Regions from separate parts of the Homo sapiens genome. Here all the other regions are linked to region 2. The links are contacts of gene promoters, found by promoter capture Hi-C in blood cells and fetal thymus (Javierre and others, 2016). All regions are on one chromosome and are shown on one strand. Each heading gives the region's core, a stretch centred on a gene start or on the middle of the fragment in contact. The rest is flanking DNA. Distances are from core to core; before and after follow the strand shown.

What was found. Contacts are between HindIII fragments. The CHiCAGO score rates a contact against its expected background, and 5 or more counts as called.
Region 1: a fragment that was not itself captured here is called in contact with the fragment with the promoter of CAPN8 in region 2 in 4 of 17 cell types (naive CD4 T cells, naive CD8 T cells, total CD4 T cells and 1 more); the score reaches 7.8 in naive CD4 T cells.
Region 3: a contact is called between a fragment that was not itself captured here and the fragment with the promoter of CAPN8 in region 2, in 2 of 17 cell types (total CD4 T cells and naive CD8 T cells). The highest score is 6.0, in total CD4 T cells.
Region 4: a contact is called between a fragment that was not itself captured here and the fragment with the promoter of CAPN8 in region 2, in 1 of 17 cell types (fetal thymus). The highest score is 5.1, in fetal thymus.

Annotation. Positions count from the first base shown.
Region 1 is chr1:223,124,764-223,127,463 of GRCh38, forward strand. All of the region lies in intron 5 of TLR5 (toll like receptor 5), which reads right to left. Among named protein-coding and RNA genes, the nearest start is that of TLR5, 17 kb to the right of the region's middle. The HindIII fragment of the contact is 9,495 bases long and covers 1-2,700 here.
Region 2 is chr1:223,664,304-223,667,003 of GRCh38, forward strand. It overlaps CAPN8 (calpain 8), which reads right to left and starts at 1,398. Exons shown (of 21, transcript NM_001143962.2): 1 at 1,107-1,398. The coding sequence starts at 1,343. The HindIII fragment of the contact is 20,763 bases long and covers 1-2,700 here.
Region 3 is chr1:223,092,536-223,095,235 of GRCh38, forward strand. LOC102724046 (a long non-coding RNA gene) reads right to left here. Exons shown (of 2, transcript XR_007066892.1): 2 at 1-1,939. Among named protein-coding and RNA genes, the nearest start is that of TLR5, 49 kb to the right of the region's middle. The HindIII fragment of the contact is 1,439 bases long and covers 620-2,058 here.
Region 4 is chr1:222,787,826-222,790,525 of GRCh38, forward strand. No RefSeq gene overlaps it. Among named protein-coding and RNA genes, the nearest start is that of DISP1, 26 kb to the right of the region's middle. The HindIII fragment of the contact is 741 bases long and covers 893-1,633 here.

The DNA.
Region 1 (2,700 bases), core at 159-2,658, 540 kb before region 2:
TGGCTAATTTTTGTATTTTTAGTAGAGATAGCCTTTCACCATGTTGCACAGGCTGGTCTCGATCTTCTGACCTCAGGTGATCCACCTGCCTCAGCCTTCAGAATTGCTAGGATTACAGGCCTGAGCCACCGCACTCCGCCAGTGAGTTATTGTGAATGGGGGAAGAAGGGTTGTTTGATATCAGAGGGGAAGTTACAGCAACAGATGTGGGTGCATGTGGCTCAAATCACACATGGAGAATGAGGTAGCTGACTAATATTGGAGGTGTATTTTGTGTATTCTTTTGTGTTTTGGCACAGCTGGGTGCAGTTTTCTGCCTTTACATGCAAGAAATTGCACATAAGCAAATGTGAAATTCACATTCTTGAATATGTTAATATTATTCTCCAGCATATCAATAGTCTTCCCTAACACATTAATATTGTTCCCTAATACATCAATCACGTTAGAAACAAATTTACATTCCAAAACAAGCATTATAGCAGCACTGACTACACTCTAATTCAAGGATTACAGTTCAAATTAAGAGTAGAAAAGATGCAGGTTCTATATAAGATTCTACCCCCTGCACCTGCAAGGCTGAGTATGGAGAACCCGTGGGACTGTCTTGAAAATCAGCCCTGGGAATGAGTGCAGACTCAGAACCTAACGAGCTCAGGGACTTGGGCAGAGTGTGTCACCTTTCACACTCTCAGTGTTCTCATGTTTCATTGAAAGACTTAACAAGATTAGTAGCTCTCAGCCTTGGCTACACACTAGAATCACCTGGGAAGTCTTCAGACCCAGGAAGCCCAGACTGACCACAGATGCATTAAATGAGCCTCTTTGGGATTGGCGGTGGTTGGTGGTGATGGTGGTGGCGGTGGGGGTTGTGGTGTTGGTGGGGGGGTGGTGGTGTGCTCTCTCAGGAATCTGTATCCTTAGCCATTGTGTGAATTTTATACACACTCAAATTTGAGAATCACTGATGGAAACCAATGGTTCTCAAACTTGGCTACACACCGGAATCACCAGGAGACTTTAAAAAATTACAAATTTAGTTGGTGTGGAGTGTGGCTTGGGCATCCAGGGTTGTTCAGAGTCTTCAGGTGACTCCACCAGCAGAGAGTCTGATCACCTGGTCTTCTGGCTGCAACCCTGACTGCAGCTTAGAACCATGTGGGCTGCTTAAAAACAGTACTGACTCAAAAAATGAAACACAGAACTAACTGTCGCATGACCCAGCAATTCCACTTCTGGGTGTACACCCAAAAGAACTGGAAGCAGAAGCTCAACAGATATTTGCACACCAATATTCATAGCAGTATCACTCACAATAGTCAAAGGGTGGAAACAACCCAAATATCCACCAATGAATGAATAAATGAACAAAATTTGTTGTCTATATAATGGGATATTTTTCGGCCTTAAAAAGGAATGGAATTCTGACACACGGTACAAGACGGATGAACTTTGAAGACATTATGCTGAGTAAAATAAGCCAGTCACAAAAGAACAAATATTGCATGAATCCACTTACAAGATATCTAGAATAGATAAATTCAGAGATAGGAAGCAGAGCAGAAGTTACCAGGGGCTGGGAGGGGAGGATGGGGAGTTAGCGTTTAATGGGCAGAGTTTCAGTCTGGGATGATGAAAACATTCTGGAGACAAACAGTAGTGAATGTACTTAATGTCACTGAACTGTCTGCCTAAAAATTATTAAAATGGACATTTTTTATAAAATGAAAATTATATGTCTATTTTACCACAATTAAAAAAATTAAATTAAACCCCCAAAACCCACTACAAATACCCAAACTGGACTTCTCAATATTCCAGTTCCACAGGCCTCTGAGGCCTGGAAAGTGCATTTTATAGCCATATCCCAGTTACTCTGAAGCTAGTGGTCTCAGGCCATGCTCTGAGAAGTGTTGGTCTAATGGATCCCCTCCAACTCAGAAACCAAGTGATTCTCTTAGAGGAAGAAGGGCTGGTAAGAAAATCTGAGGGCTGTTGAGTATTGGGTTTTTATTATTAAGGCTGATTTAACTTGTATCTAGGGCTTTGAGGGGGAAAAACAGAAACAGAACAATCAATGCAGGCTTCAATACTCCTGCCAAGCACTGTTAATTAAGTTAATGAGGCCAGAGGGAGAAGGGTCAGTATCCCTTTCATTTGAGCTGAATTCATTTAGCTTTAATCCCAGCCATTAGCTGGGTTGGTTCCCTTTCTTGACTTCATTGCCTGGACAGCAGAGCTGCTCACTTATGCTTGGGGAGTTATGGGCCATGGTGTCTCTGCAGCAAACACACAGCTTGCATTTCAGGGGTGCCTCTGTTCCTGGGGCACCACAGCATGCGGATGCCTCCAGCTGAGCCAGGGCTGCTCCTGTGTCAAGTTAATGCTTGATCCCTAATAGATAATTCCAGTCACAGGCTCGCTGGCAGGCCTGGGGTTCTGAGCAGGGCTTGGGCTGGCTGTGGTCAGGTGGAAGCTATAGAGGGAATGCTTCTCCTGGCAGGTGCTGGGCCCAAACCTGGAGGGCCATTGGAACAGCAAGCATGGAGGACTCACTGAGAAAAACACTAATGCATTTCCAAATGGGTGTCTGAGAGAGTTTCTCCAAATTCACACAGGTATAAAATTCCTGGACCAATTCCAAAAGTAGGTACAGCATGTGGGTTTAGCCTTGGATAAAGGCTCGAGGGCAGTGAACAA
Region 2 (2,700 bases), core at 148-2,647:
GTGCACCTTTCAGCAATGATGTTGTCACAATTTACCTGCCAGCTGATTGCATCCAGCACTGAGTTGTTCCATTGTGCACTGGCCCAGGGACCATATGCAGTAATAACAACTACGTATTCTGCATCTATTATGTTCTGGGCACTATGCTCTGAGATTTATCTCTAATTCTCATACCAACCCTGAAAAATAAGGTGCCAGTAAATGCCATTTTACAGATGAGAAAACTAAGGTTCACAGAGTTTACCGGCCCAAAACAACACAGGCAGAGCTAGGATTCAAATCTATCTTACCTAGTTCCAAAGCTCATCCATGCTCTTCTCTCTATACCTCACCATCTCTGAACAAGAGTTCAGGCTGGGTGTAGTGGCTCACATCTGTAATCCTAACACTTTGGGAGGCTGAGGTGGGCAGATGGCTTAAGCCCAGGAGTCCAAGACCACCCTGGGCAACACAGCACAACCCTGTCTCTACAAAAATATGTAAACATTAGCTGGGTGTGGTGGCACGTGCCTATAATCCCAGCTACTTGGGAGGTTAAGGTAGGAAAATCACCTGAGCCCAGGAAGGTTGAGGTTGCAGTGCACTGTGATCGCACCACTGCACTCCAGTCTGGGTGACAGAGTGAGACTCTGCCTCAAAAAAAATAAGAGTTCAAAAGGTGATGGGGGGGCCAGATGCAGTGGCTCATGCCTGCTATCCCAGCACTTTGGAAGGCTGAGGCAGATGGATCACCTGAGGTTGGGAGTTTGAGACCAGCCTGACCAACATGGAGAAACCCCATCTCTACTAAAAATACAAAATTAGCCAGACATGGTGGCACATGCCTGTAATCCCAGCTACTCGGGAGGCTGAGGCAGGAGAATCACTCAAACCCAGGAGGTAGAGGTTGCAGTGAGCTGAGATCATGCCATTGCACTCCAGCCTGGGTGACAGAGCAAGACTCCATCTCAAAAAAATAAAATTAAAAAAGGTGGTGGTGGAGGGATCTGAAATATGAGATCCAGACACTTAGGGTCCACAGCCTCAACTTCTCCCTCAGTTCCTCCTGATCAGATGTAAGGCCCCTCCACCTTGTATGTCACTCAACAGCAAGCCCGCTTCCTTACCGTGGGCCGCTTCCAGATGATGCCTTGAGTTTGCGGAGAGCCTGGTCCAAGATCCTTGTAGCCCAAAGCTGATGGACATGCTGGGAACTCAGGGTCCTTAAATAGGACCCCTGAGTCCAAGCACTGTTGCCTCAGGGTCTTGAAATCCTGGCCCAAGTACTTCAAAGCGTTTTGGTTGGAGCCAAGACCTTGAGTGGCTGCCCGCTGCCTAGATACACCAGCTGCCTGGGCTGCCATGGCCGTGGGCTCTGTAGGGTGGACAGAAGGGCAGGGCTGCACTGTACTCTCAGACACCTGCTCCACTGGGAGGGGAGCTATAAGGCACTAAAGGAGGTGGAGCAGACAAACATTTCACCTGAGGCCCTGTTCCAGAAGGAAGTGAGTCATGGCCAGGGACAAATATGTACCCAAGGTCCAGGCCAATCTGCCCCACCTTCTTCTTCTGCCTTTTGCAAATAATTTGGGGTCTGGGAACTTTCCAGGGCCCATCCCAGGCCATTAGCCTAAGAAATCCATTAGGATCTTGACCCCACCCCGGCATTCCCTCCACACACCTCTTTGCAAGACCTGCTTACCTTGCTTCAAGCCCATTGACTGAGATGAGAAGGCTTATTGAGCAGCTTGAAGCAAATATTCATCAAGGAATTGGAGGCATGGCTCTGAGCAGGAAGAAGGCAAGTAGTTACAGGGGCCTCCTTTCCTGCCAGAAATGTTTTGGTGCATATTTCCTAGGAAGGCAAAAAATACCAGAGAGTAGTGATTCACAGGCCAGATTTGGAATAAGCCTGACTGGAGGAGGTTCCACCTGTGAGTGAACGCTTTGGCCTCTGACTGCCTCGGTTTCTATCCCAGCTCCCCCGGTAATTTGCTCTGTCATGTTGGGCAAGTTGTTTAACCTCTTTTCTCCTAAGTTTTTTTATCTATAAACTGGAAGAGCATAGGAGAGCCTACCACAAAGGGTTGTTCGGAAGAGTGATGAGATAGTACATGTCATCTGCTTAGAACAGTATGAAGTAACATTCAGTGAATGTCAGGTATCACTATTCCTTGAAGCCAGGATTCCCAGAAAGGCCTTGGAATCAGGAGCCTTGATTCCAATCTCAGAAGTGAGTTACAAGCTGTATGACCTTGGATTAGTCACTTCTCTCTGGGCTCCAGTTTCCTACATCTGGTCTACCCGAAGGATGTCAACCACACCAATGCTTTTTGAACTTCAGTGTTTGTGGCACACTAGAAAATGGTCCCCCAAGGATACCAGGTCCTCATCTTGAGAACCTGTAAATAGTCCCTTATCTGGGAAAAGGGTTTTTGCTGCTATGACTAAGTTAAGGATCTCGAGATGGGAAGATTATCCTGACCCTAAATACACAAGTGTCCTAAGAGGAAGGCAGAAGAAGATTTGACAATAGACAAAAAGGAGAGGTGATGAAATGAGGCAGGCAGAGGTTAGCGAGATCCTGCCCCACTCCAGGGAACACCAGCAGCCACAGGAGCTGGAAGGGGCAAGAATGGATTCTCCCCTAGAGCCGCTGGAGGGATGTGGGCCTTCCAACACCTCGATTTCACAGCCTTGGGACTTCTGGCCTCCAGAACG
Region 3 (2,700 bases), core at 89-2,588, 570 kb before region 2:
AACTCAAGCCTGCCAGCACCAAACTCAAATTCTTGCACATCCAATTGCTTTAAATGTAGGCCAAATATTATTTGCCCATTTAGAGCCTGCCTGCTTCGATAATTTGCAAAACTACACCCGACACCCTCTCACCATAGGTAAGACGAACCTCAGGGCTACAAAAGACCCCAAATGGCTGCTGTCCTTTGGAGCTCTCTGACCCAGAGACTCCTCACCATGATGCTCCCCACCATGAACCCTCTTGGGTTCAAACGATCCTCCAGCCTTAGCCCCCCAAGTAAATGAGACTTCAGGTACATGCCACCAGGCCTGGTTAATTTTTAAATCTTTTTTTAGAGATGGGGTTTCACCATGTTTGCCTAGGCTGGTCTCAAACTCCTGAACTCAGCAATCTGCCCGCCTGGGCCTCCCAAAGTGCTGGGATTACAGGTGTGAGCCACTGCACCTGGCTCCTTTTCTTTTCTTCTAGACCTGTGACATCTCTTAGACCTGTAACCTCCTCTCTGATCCTCCTCTCCCCTGGGAGTGTCCTTGCCCTTTTCTTCTGGTGGTGGCCCTGCCACTGCCTCTGGAAGGTCTTCTGCTGCAAGGGACTTTCCCCTTCCATGCATTCTGTCCAAGCTTCATCCAAATAAAGCTCTTGTGTGCTATTGCCATCTAGTGATCTGGTCTTTTTCTTGATCTTTCCCCAACATTCAAACTCATGAGAGTATAATTGTGTAAATAAGCAGATAAATCTAATTTTAGACACTACCTACCAAGGGGCTTCACTGACGTCTGTAATGTGAGAGTTAAGCAGCTTAGCTAGTAACACTACTGAAACACCACTGTTTTTACTGAAAGATATAATGTATGCAGGGGTCATTCATCACAGATACAGAACGTCCTAAAAAGAAAAAAAAAAAGTAGCATCAAACACATTTTAAATTATAGACCAGAAGAGTAAACAGACTTGTCTTGTTGGTTTTGTTGCTGCCTCGTGGGGCTAATGGCCAGCCCCTGGACAGTCCCAAGGGGGCAGCTCAGTTACCATTCTCAGGAAGAGGATACGACTGTCTACGGCTCTTCCCAACAACAAACACAGAGTAGCCATGCACATCTCAGGAATGGAGATGGAGCAAGAGAAAAACTAGCGATAACAGCTAGAGTTGGTTGCATTTCTAGTAGGTGCTAAACAACATGCAAGGTGTTGTACATGCATTATCTCAGGTATTCCTCACAAAACCCTATTATTAGTCCAAAGCTCAGAAGAGTTCATCAATTTGCCAAAGTTGCAAATCTAATCCATGGTAGAATTGGGATTCAAAGCCTGGTCAATGAGACTCCAGGAAGGACAGGATTTAACCGCCTTGCCCTGTTGCAGAAATTCAACTAGCCTGAGCATTTTGCAATGTGTCATAACTTCTGATAATGGGCTGAATAAAGGATGGCAGCAACATCGGTAGGAATTGCAGTATCTCTCAAAGTTACGGGCCAGGGGAGGGTGGGACAGGTGTCAGCAGACAGACTCCATGGACATGCTACATCCTGGTGTCAGATTTGGGGTACTGACCTCCACTGGGGTGTGTGTGGTGGAACAGGGTTCTGCCTAGTCACAGCCCAGTTCTATCAGATCAGGAACCCCGTCATCCTCCCAGGCTCCTTCCTGGCCACCTGCAGCAGCTGGGCCCAGGGCTGCTTCCATATTCAAGAAAGAGAGACATCGAAGTGACAGGGATGGAACAGAATGCTGAGAGATCAAGGGAAGTTTCTAGTTATTTTCCCATCCACACCCAAGCTCTCTCGTCCTCCGTTGTCAGCCCAGTCAGGAACATCTCGTCACTCACCCCACCTCCATAGGAACTGACCCTCTGTGGATGGTTTTCCATGGCTGCCATAACAATGTGCACTAAGGGAGTGGCTTGAACCAAAGAAATGTCTTGTTTCACAGTCCTGGAAGCTGGAAGTCCAAGATCAAGGTGTCAGCAGGGTTGGACCCTTCTGAGGGCTGTGGGGAGAGTCTGTTCCTGGCCTCTCCCTTGGCTTCTGGTGGTTTGCTGGTGATCCTCGGCTTGTAGAAGCTTCACTACGATCCCTGCCTTCATCTTCACCTGGCACTTTTCCTGCATGAGTGTCTACCTCTAAATTTCCCATTTTTACTTATTTTTTATTTTAAAATTAAAAAAACTTTTAATAGTAGAAAATTTTGAACATACACAAAAATAGAATAGTATAATGAACCCCCATGTACCCATTACATAGTGTCGACAATGACCAACAAATGGCCAATCTTATCTCATTTGTTCCTCCTCCCTGCACCTATCTCTATGGAAATATTTTAAAGCAAATTCTCCTTATCATTTTATTTACATACATGTCAGTCACATGTCTTCTAAATGATAACTTTTTTTTTTTTTTTTTTTGACACAGAGTCTCAGTCTGTCGCCCAGGCTGTAGTGCAGTGGTGCTATCTTGGCTCACTGCAACCTCCACTACCTGGGTTCAAGCAATTCTCATGCCTCAACCTCCTGAGTAGCTGGGCTAACAGGTGCATGCCACCATGCCCAGCTAATTGTGTGTGTGTTTAGTAGAGACAGGGTTTTGCCATGTTGGCCAGGCTGGTCTTGAACTCCTGATCTCAAGTGATCCACCTGCCTTGGCCTCCCACAAAGTGCTGGGATTACAGACGTGAGCCACCACACCCAGCCAAGAACTCTTAAA
Region 4 (2,700 bases), core at 13-2,512, 880 kb before region 2:
CACAAAACAAATGACTTAAACACTATTATTTGCCTTACGCCTCCCACTTCAAGGCAGCCAAACCCCGGGTGTGGCCCCACAGCTGAGGGAGGTTATTTCAGATGTGAGATCCTCCAGTGAGCTTTGTGAACAGCATATGTTTGCAGCACTTGAAAAGGAATGTCTGACTGTACTGATACGGACTCCTACAAAACCCGAAGAGTCAAACACTGGGTCACAGGGTAACCAACTAGCCATTTTCCAAACAGATGAATCCTGGTGGTGCAAATCTCCCTAAGTAATCCCTAGAGGTTCAAGCTCATCAACATTTATTGGGTACTATAATATACAAGGCACTCTGCTCAGTTCCAGTGGTGGGAGTGTGAAGATGAAGAAGGCATGATGCCTGCCCTCAAGGAGACAAAAATATAGTAAACAGAAACTCCATCTAAGTAAGATGATGTTGTAACACCTCTAAAAATGGTTCAGACACAGTGCTATTGGTGAACGGAAAAATGAAGATTTTATTCCACATAGAAGGACTGGCAAAGGCTTAATGGAGCAGGTGGAATGTTCCCAGAGTGTTGAAAACTAGATAGGGTTTTGACAAATAGATAGCACTGGAAAAAGATATTAAGGCTGCTGGAATCTTGGCTGTCAAACTAATTAGCTGTGTGACTATAGGAAAGTCACTTAACCTCTCTGAGTTTTAATTCTCTTATGACTAAAATTAGGAAAATGATGACACAAGGTGCTATCGTCTGAATGTTTCTGTCCCCTGATAAATTTGTATGTTGAAATCCCAATCCCCAAGGTGATAATATTAGGAGGTGGAGCTTTTGGGGAGGTGATGAGTCACTGGGGCAGAGCCCTCATGAATGGGATTAATGCCCTTACAACAGAGGCCCAAGGAAGCTTCCTTGCCCCTTTCATCATGACACAGTCAGGAGGTGCTGTACTATGAACCAGAAAGCAGGTCCTCACCAGACACCAAATCTACTGGCACCTTGATCTTGGACTTCTAGTCTCTGGAACTGCAAGAAATAAATTTCTGTTTATAAGCCACCTAGTTTATGGTATTTGTTATAATAGACCGAACATACTAAGACACAAGGTTGCTCTGAGTAAAAAATGAAATGACATGCATGAGAGCACTTACCGCAGTGTCCAGCACCTAACAGGTGCACCCAGTCATCTGTTCTGCTGTTCCTATGTAAGAGGAGGAAATAGGGTGAGCAGGCTGAAGACTTTGTGGGGAGAATGGGAAGAGGTCTCATTGGAGCAGAAGGTAGGGTGAATGAAGAATATGGCTGGAAAACTGATCTGGGGCCAAGTGGGAGTGGCCCAGTGCATGAGAAGCCCTTGGAGGATGTGCTGAAGGGCCTGTCCTTGATTTGTCACATAATAGTGGACACAGCTATCTGAATCCAATCAGAATACTATTAATTGTTCCTCAAATCCAGTCATAATGCAATCTGAATACTCTATAACTAAATATTAATTTGTAAAGTTTACCTCCCACAAAATTAATCTCCAGCAAAGACTAATCACAACTGTTATTTTAAGAGCAGCAACTTAATACAACTAACTATTAAATAGGTATTAAAGAACTAAAAATAACTAAGGTATCAGAAAGGAAGCAGCTTCAGGGAGAAGCTTTGTTCCCTAGAGCTTAGGAAACTAATAGAAGAATATGGACTTATTAAAACTTGGAAGTATGGAGCAGTATGGCAGTTTCTCAAAAAATATATAATAGAATTACCTAGTATGTAGCAGTTCCACTGCTAGATATATATTCCAAAGAACTGTAAGCAGAGACTCAGAGATATTTGTACACACATTGTATTCTCACACTGCTATGAAGAACTGCCTGAGACTGGGTAATTTATGAAGAAAAGAGGTTTAATTGACTCACAGTTCCGCATGGCTGGGGAGGCCTCAGGAAACTTGCAATCATGGCAGAAGGCAAAACGGAACCAAGACAGGTCTTCACATGGTGGTAGGAGAGAGAGAGAGAAGGGGGAAGTGCCATACTTTTAAACTATTTTGTGTTTTAAAATTTTTTGATTTTGTGAGAACACTATGATGAGAACAGCAAGGGGGAAATCCACACCCATGATCCAATCACCTCCCACCAGGCCCCTCTCCTGACAAGCGAAAATTTCAATTCAACATGAGATTTGGGTGGGGACACAGAGCCAAACTATGTCACCCATGTTCATAGAGGCACTATTTGCAAGAGCCAAAAGATGGAAGTAACCCAAGTGTCCATCAATGAATGCATGGATAAACGTTTTAATTACCTACAATGAAATATTGTTCAACTCCAAAAAGAGAGTAAATTCTGACACATGCTATAAGGTGGATGAAGCTTGAGGATATTATGCTAAATGAAATAAGCCAGGGACAAATAGACAAATATTGTATGACTCAACTTATGTGAGGTACTTAGAGTAGTCAAAATCATAGAAACAGAAAACAGAAATGGTGGTTGCCAGGGGCCTGTGGGAGTGATATGGTTTGGCTCTGTGTCCCCACCCAAATCTCATTTCTAACTGTAATCCCCACGTGTGGAGGAGGGACCTGGTGGGAGGTGATTGGATTATGAAGGCAGTCTCCCCCATGCTGTTCTTGTGATAGTGAGTGAGTTATCACAAGATCTGATGGTTTTATAAGTGGCAGTTTCCCCTGCTCTTTTCTCGCCTGCTGCCATGTAAGACG